Regions from separate parts of the Homo sapiens genome. Here region 2 is linked to region 1. Evidence: promoter capture Hi-C in 16 types of primary human blood cells and fetal thymus (Javierre and others, 2016). All regions are on one chromosome and are shown on one strand. Each heading gives the region's core, a stretch centred on a gene start or on the middle of the fragment in contact. The rest is flanking DNA. Distances are from core to core; before and after follow the strand shown. Region 1 holds the start of NGF-AS1 (NGF antisense RNA 1). Region 2 has its middle 140 kb from the start of VANGL1.

Evidence for each region. The method cuts DNA at HindIII sites, captures the fragments that hold promoters and counts their contacts. A CHiCAGO score of 5 or more calls a contact.
Region 2: a fragment that was not itself captured here is called in contact with the fragment with the promoter of NGF-AS1 in region 1 in 2 of 17 cell types (M1 macrophages and M0 macrophages); the score reaches 5.4 in M1 macrophages.

Annotation. Positions count from the first base shown.
Region 1 is chr1:115,279,005-115,286,729 of GRCh38, forward strand. NGF-AS1 (NGF antisense RNA 1) reads left to right here and starts at 4,030. Exons shown (of 2, transcript NR_157569.1): 1 at 4,030-4,236. NGF (nerve growth factor) reads right to left here. Exons shown (of 3, transcript NM_002506.3): 3 at 6,913-7,725. The coding sequence ends at 7,066. The HindIII fragment of the contact is 8,535 bases long and covers 1-7,725 here.
Region 2 is chr1:115,500,247-115,507,971 of GRCh38, forward strand. No RefSeq gene overlaps it. Among named protein-coding and RNA genes, the nearest start is that of VANGL1, 140 kb to the right of the region's middle. The HindIII fragment of the contact is 2,836 bases long and covers 1,398-4,233 here.

The sequences.
Region 1 (7,725 bases), core at 2,780-5,279:
GCAGAGGGTGGAATCCCACTAGTGGAGCTCAAGCCAGGAGCGCTCTGTCCAAGGCCAGTTGGCCTGAGAACCAAAGAAATGAGCCTTGTCAGAGTTCCTAAGCAAGAACAGGTCGAGACTATTGGGGAGCCACGTGTGGTGTAGGACCTCGCTGTTCAAAGCGCAGTCCCTGGAGCAGCACTATGTACGTCATCTAGGGGTTTGTTAGACATGCAGGATCTTAGTCCCCCATCCATCACCTACTGAATCAGACCTGATTCACGTGAACCTGAAAGTTTGAGAAACACTTCCATAGAGATCCCAGGGCAGGATTACGGTTAGGGGTGCAGGGCCAGCTGAGAGTTTGGAATTTGGTAGGTTTGAGACAGGAGTGGGAGCAGGTCATCGATAAGCAGGTGGAGGCCAAGGTGTGTGTGGGGGTGGGCCGGGTGATTGCTGCCTACACCAGAGGGTGTTGGGGCTGCCTCTATGTGCTGTGGGTATGTGGTCTATGGGTATATCCAGACTGAAAGTTGAAAGTAACACCCAATCCTCTATTCAGTCTCCATCTGGGATGTAAGAGCCTGGAGGACAGGGGCCCCATCTTACTCCTGTGTCTACTCTGGGCCTAGCATGGCACCTTACCCATCACAGATGTGCTGTCAGTGTCTGCTGAACTGAATAAGGTCCCCTTGGCCTAACCTGTCAATCACACAGGTTGGGGTGATTGTAGTGGAGTCACCATTGATTCTGTACTTTCCTCAGGAGTCTCCTGGTGACATAATGACATTTTGATATTTTCTTCAGGAAAAAAGCACCCTGCTGGATTAGATAGGGTCCAGCATCACAACCCTTGAGAGTCCAAGCAATGCCCCAAAAGACCCAGGCCTCTGCCTGGGTGTCAACTCGTCAATGTGCCATTTCTGCAAAAAGGAAAATGGACCTGCTGTTTCTTGCTGTTATTGTCTGAAAAGTCAGTGCCCAGATGCCAAGCCCAGAGCCTTGCTGTGCACTCGGGAAACCGTTATTGCCAGCCTCTGCAGACCCTCAGGAATGAGCTCTGCTTGCAACAGCCTTCTCCTGGCAAGAGTTAACACTAAGGTGCAGCTGAAGGAATGTGAAGACTGGAGAGCCAGTTTGGGGGATTGCTATTGCAATCAGAAGACAGCCCAAGTCAGAGTTCCAAAGCCCTTTGAAGGGATGCCAGCTCAGACACATGTTTCCAATTATCATATGCAATCTCGAGACAGTGTGCAAGTTGCACTTTCATTATGTCAAAGTGAAAGGAATGGTGGGGGCGAGATAAAGGGGAGAGGCCGCTAAGCTGGAGGCTGCACTTAGCTGTGGCACCAAACGTTAGCCAAGGCGCCGGGCTGGCCTCTCCAACCCAAGTCTCCCCCTGGAGCCAGGGGTGCATGGTACGTACTCTGAGAGCCTTTTTTTTCTTCTTGTTTTGGGGATCGAGGAAACCCAGCTGATATGGCTGGAGGAGGCCCCATCTTCAGGAAGATATTTGACCAGCTCTTTGGTGTTTGGTCTTAACAGAGACAAGATTTTGTGAAAACCATATGGGGACTTTAACTGTGTCTTCCTACAGGATTTCACAGGGTTATTCTCTGAATTCTTCTAAGGTCTGTAATTGCAGGAGAAACTAACTCCTCTGCCAGTTGTAGCTCAGAATGAAGTGAGAGAACAGACAGAGACTCTCAATTCTATTAGCGGTCTCTCTCCCATTGGGGCTGGGCAGCCTCTTGGTTGGATTTTACCTTGTTCATAATTCTGGAGTAAGTCTCAGCACAGGACAATAATTTCACTCAACTTATTTTCCGCACGTAGTTCAAAATCGTTTCCTCCAGGAAGTCTTTCCTGGCTTACTCTTTCCATTGGATTACTTCTTACTACTGTAGCCATTGTTTAGAATGTTTATTGGATGGATTTGTATGTTGCACTGTGCTTTTAAGTCAGTGGGTGGGTGCATGTGAGTGTAGAATGTGCACTTCTTGGCTGCTTCTTAGCTTCCAGGGGTTATTCACACATATACACACACACATAAGCACACACACTATCCTTGTGTGTGTATGTTTGTATATTGTGTCTATTTCTGTGCATATATGTATATGTAGCTGTGTGTACTGTATATTTACATATGTTTCATATACAATGATTTATTATGTACCAAACATTGGACCAAATGCCTTACAATACAATGAAGTAGGTTCTCTTATTTTCACCTACATTTTACATGTAAGAAAACTGCAGTGCAGAGAGAGAAGTAATTTGTCCAGTGTCACTCAGCCAAGCTATGGGTGAGGCCAGGCTTTATCCCTGATGGTCTGATCTTGCTCTTGATACCAGCCTCTGAAAATTACCCAGATGTGTCACATGCCTCAGGGAGGACCCTGTTTTCAACTGAGACCATTAACGCATTTATGGCTAACACAAGGTAGGTGCGGGGATAGGAGGAGATAGGCTGTGGATGGTGGGGATGGAGAAAAAGATGGAAACTAAGTTCTGTCTTCCCTTCCTTAGGACATTGATTGCCTGCCACATGCAAGATTGGGTCCAGGTGCTGAAGAAACACAGATGTGCTGCATCCTTGACTTTAAGGAGCATCCCTGGGTTGGAGGGATTCTCTGCAGGCTGCTGTGGTGGAGGGAAGATTTGCCCAACTTACTCTTGGCGCTGGACCCCCTGAGCCATCTTCACACACCCAGGTGAACTTTGGGAAGGTAACAGCTTTTCAGTTGCAAACCCAAGTGAATTAGAGCAAAACAGATCCCACGTGCTTGACACATGGAAACTTTCAGAGCCAATGGTTTATAAACTTACCAAGAGCTGGGGGAGTAAACACATCCCAGGGAACTGTGGAGCACTTCTCTGGCATTGATACACATAAGCAGAAAGCACAGCCTTCCCCGACACTTGCCTTAAGATAGTCTTTTGTCTTAGAACCCAGAGGCTTACCTGAGCTAAACCACATAAAGTGCTTAGTGCGATGCCTTGAACATACCAAGCTCTTAATAAACGCTAAGGTCACTATTAGCATTGCTTGTCATGGAATAAACCTAGGATACATCTATAAAACTGTCCATAATCTTCCTTGCCTTGTGGAAAGTTGTTCCACTATTCCAACATCCTTTTAGGGGTTCTCAGCTAATCTACCTTTCAAAACGAAAATTTATTATACACTTCTTAAGTGCTAGGTAGTTTTGTATATTTATGTGTATTATCTCATTAAATGATCTCTCAGCCCTCTGAGAAAAGCACTATTATCATCCATATTTCACAGATGAAGAAATCGTCAGAGTTTCCATATATCATTGTCAGAGATGTTAAGCAACTTGCTTAAGGTTACACAGCCTTAGCAGAAGTACTTGTTTGACTCCAAAGCCTACCATTATGCTGGAATCACTAGAATCCAGGTGGCCTATCTGAACCCGGATTCAGGCATCTGAAGCTGAATAGCTGCCATTCTTGCTTTTAACCTCCTGGTAAAAGCAGGCTATGCCTGATCTATCTATCTATCTATCTATCTATCTATCTATCTATCTATCTATCTATCAATCATCTATCTATCTGTCTATCTATCTATCTATCATGGCCTGGCTATGCCACATCTATATTCCATGATGTCCACTGACCAGAGGGTTTCCCTTATCCAATCCATACATGTGCCAATAAACAAACATTTAGTGAGCACCAACATAGTTGCTTCTCTCCTATAATCAACACAGGAATGGTTAAGTTTGGAATAAATTACTTTTCCTAACACTTGCATAGGACTGGACTGTTTGCTTTCAAATACTTGGTTTTGCTTCATGCTCACAACTCTGGGATATAGGAATGATTATTTTCATTTCACAGCTGCAAGAACCAAGCTCAAAGAGGAACTGCTGCTTGCCAAAGTTTCACAGATAGAAATGGGGGAGCTGGGGCCAGAACCCAGCTCTGCTGACACCAAGCCCAGAGTTTGTACCATGACACTGGGCTGCTCCCTCGGAGCTGGGTTTGGCTGATGACCTCAACTCTGAGCACCCGTTGCCTCCCACTGTTCCGTTCAGGCCTGTGCGAGAAAGACTCCCAGGCCCCTGGGTTCTCCATAGCCCACACTTCCACTCGGCTCCGCTTCTCTTGCCCAGCTGTCTCTCCTCCAAGGAGCGGACAGGGCGGACACGAGACCCGGGTGCCCTTTTGTCCTCTATTCCAGCTCTGGGCGGATCCTCCTCCCATGATGTGGATGATGCTGAGGAGAAAGTGGTAAGGCTTTTAGGAGGAACACTCCTGATTCACGGAAATGAAAATAGCTGCTGGGTTGTTGCTGAAACTCTGTCCCCATGGTGGGCTTTCTATTAGCAGGGAAGGGGTCAGGCTGGCGCTCTGGTTGCTGGAGGGCGTCAGAGGGACAACTGAGTGTACCCCAGAGTCAGGCACCCTGCGGTCTCCCAGGCCGGGGCCTGAGCCTTGCTAGGAGGGCGGACAGCCAGGGCCGGCGCTAGTTTTCTTGGGCGTGGTGGAGGACGCCTTCCACCAAACGAAGTTGCCGAGAGGAGTCAGATCTGCTCTCACCTTTTGGGCTTTTGGGGAACCCAGGCAGAAAAATCTCAGTGAGGCACAGGAAGGAAAATTTTGCAAAATGTGCTGCTGCCGCTCCTCAGCAGAGTATAGTGGGCGGTTTGAAGCTGTTTTCTTGGTGTTCAAGTGGCTGGGGCCCTGGCGACCCCGGTCAGCCTTTCTGGGGCAGCCCGGGTGGGTCTGAAAGCCAGGGCTCCCCTCCGTGTGTGGGAGCAGAGCCCAAGCTGCGGAAACCACCGGGCGCGGGGTTGTTTTTGGAAGGCTCCGACGCCGATCAGCCAAACTGATATCCCTTATATTGTGTGAAAACATTGGCTCCCACGCTGGGACTCCAGTGTTTCCGCCTAGAGCAGATTTTGCCTTTGGGAAGGTGGTGGTGTTCCTGGGATGAGGGGCCCTCCTCTTACCGGACACGCAGGAGAGCAGCCCACATGGAAGTGAGGGCCTCAGCCTTCGTGCTCCCTCAGACGGTCCTCCCTCTCGGCTGCCCAGGGGAGCCAAAGACATTTTTTAGATGTCCCAGTGTCTTGCAGTGCCGCGGGCAGCACTCCAGGACCCTCTTTGTTGGTGTAGCTGCTCACAAGCCAACCTTCCTGATGGGGAGCTTCCTGAAGGCCTCCCTCTCCACTCCTCTCCCCACATCCCAGGCCCAAAGTCCAGTCCTAAGAGAAAAAAAGCCACCCAGAAACTTTGTAGGGGCACCTAGGACGGCTGAGACCACTGGCATTGGACCCCAGTAAAAGTCACAGACACAGATCACTGGGAGGGCTCCTCCCTGAGGCCTTTATCTCACTTAGAATCTCAGCACAGAATGTTCTAGCTGGTGTTTCTTGAGCATAAACCTTTATTCCAATTGCAGTGGCTCTGATAGAAAAAACAGGGCACATTTCATCATACTTCTACCCTAATCAAATGGCTCTCATGCCAAAGCTCCCTACGTTTCTAATTTGCCCTATTTGGATGGCGTTGGAGGTGGGGCCGGACAGCGAGAATTACAGAGGGAATGAATAAGACCATTTGCTCTTTTCTCGGATGGACAATTTGGGCCTGTTCTCTTGAAAACCAGTGTAGGCATTTCATCCTCGGGGGGAGACAGGATGGATAGGAGGGGAAATTTTCTGTCTTAATATAAGTGCTCTGTCTGGGGGAATATTGTGGCTTCAAGGAAAATACAAAATGAAAGTTGCAGGGGAAGGGGGTCGTGTGAGGCTGGGTGGAGCCCTGCTGCAGGCTGAACCCTGGAGTCCCTCTGTCACCTTCACTCCTAAGATGCTCTGGATGGAGTCAGTGTTTATTAGCACATCCAAAAAGCCCCACAAGAACCACCCAGGTTGCTAACTTTCCTGGAGGCTGGAGAGTGCTGGTAAAGATGAGAGATCACACCTCCCTCCTCCTCCTGCTCTGTCCTCCCCTCCCCTTCTTCACATCCACCTCTGGCCTTCTCTTTGTCATCCTTGTTTCATTTCCCCTGTTTGGGAGAAGCAGAAAGCCGTGGTTTCCTGCCGGCCCACCTGTCCTCCACATCTCCAGGTTTATTTGGTTCTTACTCCATTTACTTAGTCTTTCTGCCCCACCCTCTTCTCTGCAGGTCCCACGGCCCCAGTCACCTTTGGTCACTTATGGAAATCATCCAATTAAGAATAAAAATATTTTCAGAAGTTCTCTCCCGTCTCTGGCTTCCCTGGCTGTGGGCTGATGGTGGGGCCCCTGGAAGTTGCTACTGTGGCTGTTAGTGGGTTGCAAGAGTGTCGGAGGCACTAATGTTTTCTTGGGGTAATGAAGTCTTTCTGCAGGAGGCTGCTGAGGGATAAAACGAGTACTAAGGCCAGCTGAACATGAAACCAGATCTACTTTGACAGGCCTCGTGAGATTACTCTGTTACAACTCTTCCAGACAGCACATCTCCCTCTACAAATGAGCAGCTCACAGATCTTTGGTACAAGCCTCTTCCTGTCTATCGAGTGCCCCCAGGACTGAGACTGTGCCTCTGAGGCCAGGGCAGCCCCATGCCCAGTGGTGATCTGCCTCCTGATGAGGCTCCACTAACTTCTCCAAGGGAGGAGACCAGGGCCCATGCTTCCAGGCCGTGGGCAGGTAATCCAATGATTAGGTAGCTTTGGCTCTGGAATGTAGAACAAAGTTGCAATCCAGCAGGCTTCCTTTGCTAATCATGCCTGGCTTAGGCTAATATCTGAAACCAGTTAGCCTTTCCTGAAGTTGCAGCACTGGCTGGGGGTGGGGTAAGGGTTACAGGTGGGCCTTAGAAGGAGCCAGGGGGTGCTTCAGACAATTCCCCCTGCATCTTCCTCAGACTTGCAGATGATTTTACTCAAAAAAAATAACCAGCATCAGCACACAGGATGCTTCCAAAAATTTAATAAATAATGATTCTTTAAAACTGTATAAACTATAAATTACCATGCAGTCCTTATAATTTAAAATAATTTACAGGTTGAGGTAGGGAGGGGCCCAGGAGAGTGTAGAAGGGGCAGGGGGAGGGAGCGTGTCGGCAGGTCAGGCTCTTCTCACAGCCTTCCTGCTGAGCACACACACACAGGCCGTATCTATCCGGATAAACCGCCAGGCAGCCTGCTTGCCATCCATGGTCAGCGCCTTGACAAAGGTGTGAGTCGTGGTACAATATGAGTTCCAGTGCTTTGAGTCAATGCCCCGGCACCCGCTGTCAACGGGATTTGGGTCCCGGCACTTGGTCTCAAAAAAGTACTGTTTGAATACACTGTTGTTAATGTTCACCTCTCCCAACACCATCACCTCCTTGCCCTTGATGTCTGTGGCGGTGGTCTTATCCCCAACCCACACGCTGACACTGTCACACACCGAGAATTCGCCCCTGTGGAAGATGGGATGGGATGATGACCGCTTGCTCCTGTGAGTCCTGTTGAAGGGGGCAGCACCACCGACCTCGAAGTCCAGATCCTGAGTGTCTGCAGCTTCACGGGGAGGCTGGGTGCTAAACAGCACACGGGGTGAACGGAGTCGCCGCTTTTTAAACAGCCTGGGGTCCACAGTAATGTTGCGGGTCTGCCCCGCCACGCGTGCAGCTATCGCCGCTGCCGGGGCGCTGCGGGCTCTGCGAAGGGCAGTGTCAAGGGAATGCTGAAGTTTAGTCCAGTGGGCTTGGGGGATGGTGTGTCCTGCAGGGACATTGCTCTC
Region 2 (7,725 bases), core at 1,566-4,065, 220 kb after region 1:
GGAGGAGCTCAGGCAGTAATGTGAGCAATGGGAAGTGGCTATAAATACACATGAAGCTTCACCACTCACACCCTGCTGTGCAGCCTGGTTCCTAACAGGCCATGGACTAGTACTGGTCTGTGGCCCAGGAAGTTGGGGACCCCTGGATTAGTGGATAAATGAAATGTGGGACATACATGCAATGGAATACTATTTGCCTTAAAAAAAGAAAAAAAATTATAACATATGCTAGAACATAGATGAACCTTGAAGATATTATGCAAAGTTAATAAGCCAGTCACAAAAGGGCAACTATTACATGATTCCAGGTAAATAAGGCACCTAGAGTAGTAAAATTCGTAAATACCAAAAGTAGAAAAGTTGTTGTCAGGGCTGGGGGAAGGGACGAATGTAGAGTTATTGTTTAATGGGAACATTGTTTCAGTTGGGGAGATGAAAAAGTTCTGGAGGTAGATGGTAGAACTATTTGTACAGCAGTGGCAATGCACTTAATGTCACTGAACCATACACTTAAAAGTGATTAAAATTGTAAATGTTATGCTATGCATATTTTAGCACAATAAAAAATTGTAAATAACTTGTCTCAGAATGTAAAGTACCTGTCTTAGAAGGTCACAGTGAAGGCATAAATGTATATTTGGCATGATTCCGGAATATAGCAGGTGTTCACAAAATATGAACTCTTCTTTCTGGAAAGCCCTTGTTCTACTATCAGACTAGCTCTCATTCACAACTCAAACACACACGACTCTAAGAGCTTGTTCCAACTCTTTGTATTCACATCACCATTTTGTGCTGAGCATCCACCTCTGTTCTCCCACCCACATGCTTCTACTATGGTCCTGGCTTCTCTGTAGTTCATCCTTGCTTTTCTTCTCTGCCTTTCCCACTAGGCTGAGAGCTACTGAGAACACAGTGTGTGTCTGTTCCTTTCTTGTCCTAGGACCCAGTAGAGTAACCCTATACATGTTTAGAATATTCATCACACAAATATGGGAGGATCAATAATTTTAAAGGGGAAAATTTATTTAAAACACAGGCTTCACTTACATATAAGGACCTCCTTTTTAAATGTCAAACAACTTCATAAACCAATATGTAAACTATTACTTGAATTTTTAATATTTGAGGATAAAAATGTTGTCATGATCTGATGGTAGTAGAAATACAGCACTTTTTTAAAACGCACTAAGCCAAACGAAGTTTGATGCACAAATAGTTTTGTAAGTCAGTGGCTATAATTCCTGGCCCACTGGGGACCCAGGACCCTCATGTTGGCAACCATGCCTCTATACAATAGGGCATTTGCAGAGTAGGCTGATAACTAAAGATTAGTTTGTAGAAAGATGATAAAGCATTTGTGGTTTGTTTGTTCTGCATGATGGCATAGAAAAGGAAGCTTGTGACTGTTCTGGGGTTTGGTGGAAGGAAGAACTGTTGGAAACAGGCAATCCTAGAGCTGAAGGCCAGTCACTAGAAGGCTCACCAGTCAAGTTGAGGTTTTCTGAGAGGAAGAAGGCAAAGCTGTGTAGACTTCTGTGAGCTCATGATGTCTGGGCTGAAGAACACGTCAAGGATGTTAGTGTCCACATGGGAAAGAAGGTGGTCCATTGGGAGATGGTCAGTGCCAGCAAAGAAAGTCTACCTGGGACTGTGAGTCTGTGTTTGTTAGTTTCCTGGGGCTGCTGTAACAAAGTATCAGAAACTGAGTGGCTTAAACAAAAGATGTATTGCCTCCAAGTCTGAAGACCAGAAGTATGAGACCAAGGTGGTGTTAGGGTTGGTTCCTTCTGAGGGCTCTGAGGGAAAGAACCTGTTCCATGCCTTTCCCCTAGCTTTTGGTGGTTTGCTGTTAACCTTCAGTAATCCTTGCCTTCTACAAGCATCGCCAGTCTCCACAAGGCATTCTCCCTCTGCATGTGCAACTCCTGTTATTTATGGCTGATACGGTTTTACCATGTCCTCACCCAAATCTCATCTTGAATTGTAGTTCCCATAATCCCCATGTGTCGTAGGAAGGATCAGCTGAAGATAATTGAATCATGGGGGCAGTTTCCCCCACGCTGTTTTTATGATAGTCAGTTAGTTCTCACAAGATCTGATGGTTTTATAAGGGGCTTCCCCCTTCACCAGACACTCATTCTCTCCCCTGCTACCCTGTGAAGAGGTGCCTTCTACTGTGATTGTAAGTTTCCTGAGGCCTCCTCAGCCATGCAGAACTGTAAGCCAATTAAACCTCCTTCCTTTATAAATTACCCAGTCTCAGGTATTTCTTCATAGCAGCGTGAGAACAGACTAATACAGTAAATTGCTACTGGGTAGTGGGGTACTGCTGCAAAGATACCTGAAAATATGGAAGCAACTTTAGAACTGGGTAACAGGCAGAAGATGGAACAGTTTGGAGGGCTCAGAAGAAGACAGAAAGATGTGGGAAAGTTTGGAACTTCCTAGAGACTTGTTGAATACCTTTGACCAAAATGTTGATAGTGATATGGACAATGAAGTCCAGGCTGAGGCGGTCTCAGATGGAGATGAGGAACTTGTTGGGAACTGGAGTAAAGGTCACTCTTGCTATGCAAAGAGACTGGTGGCATTTTGCCCCTTCCCCATAGATCTGCGGGACATTGAACTTGAGATAGATGATTTAGGGCATCTGGTGAAAGAAATTTCTAAGCAGAAACGCATTCGAGAGGAAGCAAAGCATAAAAATTTGGAAAATTTGCAGCCTGACAATGTGGCAGAAGAGAAAAACCCATTTACTGGGGGGAATACAAGCTGGCTGCAGAAATTTGCATAAGTGATGAGGAACCAGATGTTAATCACTAAGATAATGGGGAAAACATCTCCAGGGCATTTCAGAGACTTTCATGACAGCTTCCCCTATTACAGGCCCCAAGGCCTAGGAAGGAAAAATGGTTTCCTGGGCCGAGTCCAGGACCCTCTGCTGCGTGCAGCATTGGGACTTGGTGCCTTGCATCCTAGCCACTCTAGCCATGGCTAAAAGGGGCCAATGTACAGCTGAAGCCATTGCTTCAGAGGGTGCAAGCCCCAAGCCTTGGCAACTTCCATGTGGTGTTGGGCCTGCAGGTGCACAGAAATCAAGAATTGAGGTTTGGGAACCTCTGCCTAGATTTCAGAGGATGTATGGAGAGGCCTAGATGTCCACACAGAAGTTTGCTGCATGGGTGGAGCCCTCATGGAGAACCTCTGCTAGGACAGTGTGGAAGGGAAACGTGGGGTTGGAGCCCCCACACAAAGTCTCCACTGGGGCACTGCCTAGTGGAGCTGTGAGAAGAGGGCCACCATCCTCCAGACCCCAGAATGGTAGATCCACTGACAGCTTGCATCATGTGCCTAGAAAAGCTGCAGACATTCAATGCCAGCCTGTGAAAGCAGCCAGGCAGGGGACTGTACCCTGAAAAGCCACAGTGGCACAGCTGCCTAAGGTTGTGGGAGCCCATATCTTGCAACAGTGTGCCCTGGATGTGAGACATGGAATCAGAAGAGATCCTTTTGGAACTTTAAGGTTTAATGACTGCACTATTGGATTTCAGACTTGCATGGGGCCTGTAGCCCCTTTGTTTTGGCCAATTTCTCTTTGGAATGGATGTATTTACCAAATGCCTGTACCCCATTGTATCTAGGAAGTAACTAGCTTGCTTTTGATTTTACAGCCTCATAGGTTGAAGGGACTTGCCTTGTCTCAGATGAGACTTTGAACTTGGACTTTTCAGTTAATGCTGGAATGAGTTAAGACTTTGGGGGACTGTTAGAAGGGCATGATTATGTTTTGAGCTGTGAGGACATGAGATTTAGGAGGGGCCAAAGGCAGAATGATATGGTTTGGATGTGTCCCCACCCAAATCATCTTGTAGTTTCCATAATCACCACGTGTTGTGGGAGGCATCAGGTGGAGATAATTGAATCATGGGGGCAGTTTCCCTCATCCCATTCTTGTGGTAGTGAGTTAGTTCTTATGAGATCTGATGGTTTTATAAGGGCTTCCCCCTTCGCTGGATACACATTCTCTCCCCTGCCACCCTGTGGAGAAGTGCCTTCCACCACGATTGTAAGTTTTCTGAGGCCTCCTCAGCCATATGGAATTGTGAGTCAATTAAACCTCTTTCCTTTATAAGTTACCCAGTCTCAGGTATTTCTTCATAGCAGCATGAGAATGAACTAAAACAATGGCATACCTTATAACTTCATTTTCCCAAGAGTAACCTAGGGTGAAGCTTTAAAGCCTATACAAAATAAATACAAATAGATGTCATGTAGAGTAGAATCAGGCTTTGCCATTAATACAAATAAACTTTGGCAGAGAGCAGTAACATTTGAGTGGCAGAGAGGAGTGTACATCCCATAATCAAGGCCAGGGCTCAGCAAAGTTTTCTCATAAAGGGCCAGATAGTAAATATTTTAGGCTTTGGGAGATATGGTCTCTGTTATAATTAGCACAACTCTGCCACTGCATCATGAAAACAACCACAAACAATTACTAAACAAATAAGCATCACTGTTGCAATAAAACTTTATTAGCAAAATCAGGCTGTGGTCCAGGTTTGGCCCATTTACCTTACTGGCGAAGAGTATTCTTCACTCTACTAAATCCTTTCCCTTTTTTCTTGCTCTTCTTCTTTCCTTGGTGTCATTCCTCACATCAATTATATCTCCTCTTGCAACTTTACCTCTAACCTAACCCTTGTGGCTTTTCTTACCCTTCATGCAACTTACCATGAAGGATCTTCTGCCCCCACAGCAACCTCTCCTCATTGCAGTCTTCCACTTTTTTCCATTCCTCCCCAACTATGCAGCTTCTTCTTCAAAGCATCCTTTCTTCTCCATTCCAATTCTAACTCTGACATTGATTCAATCTCCCCACCCCATCCCATATCCACAAAGAAGACAGCATCAGCATTTGTGTGAGGCAATTCAATCCTGAGCTTGAGCCACACAGTGTATATATAACCATATGTAGGCAATGGAAAATACTTGCAGATCATTCATCTCAATTTATGAACCTCTTTGGCAGCCTTTGTTCTACTCTCACATGTGGCTCTGCCAAGTTTATAAATACTTCCTCTGGATGACAATAAATTTGGTCTCCCCTAATCATTCACTCCACAGATAAAATCTCATTGAGGTTGCAATAGCACTGACACTTAAAGTTAAGTGTTTTCTTGCTTGGTCTTAGCACTCTAGCCAAATGGATTTTGAGGGCCTCCTATTCATGGGTCACAGCTGCTTGACTCAAGGATTTTTGCCTATGCATGCCCTGACAGTCAGATACTAACTCACTTGGATGCCTGCCTCTCACACTGCTCTACTTTATGAAGTCAAGACCATTAATAAAATCCAGTTTACAGAAAGGCCTAGAGAAGGTTATTTCTCTGAACACTTCGCTGTACCTACTTCCATAACAGATGAACTTACCAGATGTAACAGAAGCGGTTCTTCTGTTCTCGTGGAAGATGAAGTTGTCCTTTGTTTTGATGAGTCCTGAAGGACTTAAAGGTAAGAAAACATATTCATAATATATTATCCTTTTCTGCTTTTTCCCTTAATTCTTGCCAGTTGCTAAACGCAGTGCCAGGTATATTAAGACTTTTTTTAAAAGGCATCTTCTTGTTATCACTACTATCAGCATCACAACACTCTTTCCTCTTTTCTGTATCTACTCAGCTACACAAAGCTCACTTGACAGCTTTGTAATTTTTTTTAAAAGTGGTTAATCCAGACTACAATTATCTCAATTTTAGTTTGTTGCCTGAATTGATAATTGATGGATCAATCCTTTTTTTTTCAGTGCAATGAAAATTACTATGTCATTAAAATAATGGAAATATGCTGTGGCAGGGGAAGGGAATCACCTTTGAATTCTATTTTATTTCCCTATTTATTTTTAAATATATGTGTAGAGAGAAGAGTCAGGGAGGCACAAAGGAAAATAAGCAAGAATAAAGGCCACAGGGTCATGAGGAAAGACACAGGTGCCCAGGTGGTGCAGGGAACCTGTTTTTGTCCCTTTTTGTTTTCCTTCTCCTCTGTCATTCCTCTGCTTCTGTGTCCTCCTTATCTCTCCCTCTTTTCTTTTCAGTTTCTCTCAATTTAAAATAAATTAGAACGTAGAATCAAAACGTCATGTTTTATTTTTCAAAGATTATTATTACCAGCTAAATAACATTGGTAATTTTTATTTTGAGTTTCGTACAAATTAGTTATTGATTACTAATTATTTGAGAACAGGATTTTTGTTTGGATTCTTAGCCTGTTGCTTCCACATGCTCTGAGAGGTGTAAATTTACATGGAAAATAAAATATCTTCCTGGTCAGAACAGAAGTCATTCATGATGATTTAGCTTATTTCGGTTCTTCCTTTTTTTCCCTTCTCCCCTCCCTCTCTGTCTCTCGTTACTCACACCCAGCTATGTCACTGCGATGACCAGTGAGCCAAACACTCACCTTGGGTTCCTCCTGGGGGAAGTAATAACTCACAGCAACCTATCTCCCTCCGGGGAAGCCACCTGTGACTTTCACTGACACAGGGCTCAGGCAAGTCTCTGTACACAACGTGGTCTTCACACAATGAATCAAGACTGTTGATTGACTGAGGGGTCAGAGGGCCGACAGGCTGGTCGTTGGCTAGAGCACGGTAAAGATGATGGCAACCAGGCTCAGAGACACACAGGGATGGCCACGGAGAGTTAGGCACCAGATTTCCCACTCTCAGGCTCATGGACTTTGCAAGTCCCACTTATCCAGATTCAAACCTGGGCTCCAGCTGTTGAATTTAAGATTCAGAGAGCTTGAGCTTCTCACGGTACATATCTGAGTCTCATTATTTTCATCTTTGAAGCAGATAAGGCTGCCTATCTCACAGGCTTCTTGTGAGCATGCAGGAGGTAAGATACAAGGAGCACCTAGCACAGCACGCAGCAGATGAAAAAGAGCACGGAGAATGGAGGGGAAGAAAAGGACACAGGATAGCCGCCAGGAGCACGCACAAGTTAATTTGGGGCTGTGTGGGAAACTGATGCAAACAAGCCCCCATACATAAACGCACCACAGGGAAAGCTGGGATTCTGTGCTGAGTGAGGTTATTTCCTGAACTTGCTAATTACACAGCACCATCTAGGGGCAGAGCATGCTTCGAACAAATGGTGGTCTTGGCAAGGTCCTCTGACCCTGCGGAATTCCCAGTCCCTTTTTCCCCTTTCCCCTCAGCCCTCTTCTTCCCTCTGCTCCCTTCTCTTCCATGGCATGCCCTTTCTCACCCCACACTTATTCCCTTTTCTTCCTCTATCTACTCTTCCTGGCGCAGTATTTTTTTGCAATGGAGTCCTTAGGGTTTTGGACAAAATAATCTGTGGGAAGTCAAACAATTACTATCCTCAAACAAGCCTTCCTCCTGTGCTCTATGTCACTGATGTCCTTTGGATGGCACCAGAAACTTGGCTTGCTGAGGCTGTGCTGTCTCTGGTCTCGGATGAGGGCCATCATGGTGCCATGGATGCAGGACTGGGTGTTACCACTGCAGGTGGTGAGAAGATGGCAGTGAAGGAGGACACTCTGGTTTCAACTCACATCCTGGGGGGCCACCTTCTCTGATGTGAATTCCACTGTGAATCTTTTATTGTTCTCCAACCAGTGTAAGGACTCTACCCAAAGAACTCACAAGCTAAAGCCAGCAGCAGAGTTTTCACTTAAAATGTTTCTTTAAAAAAA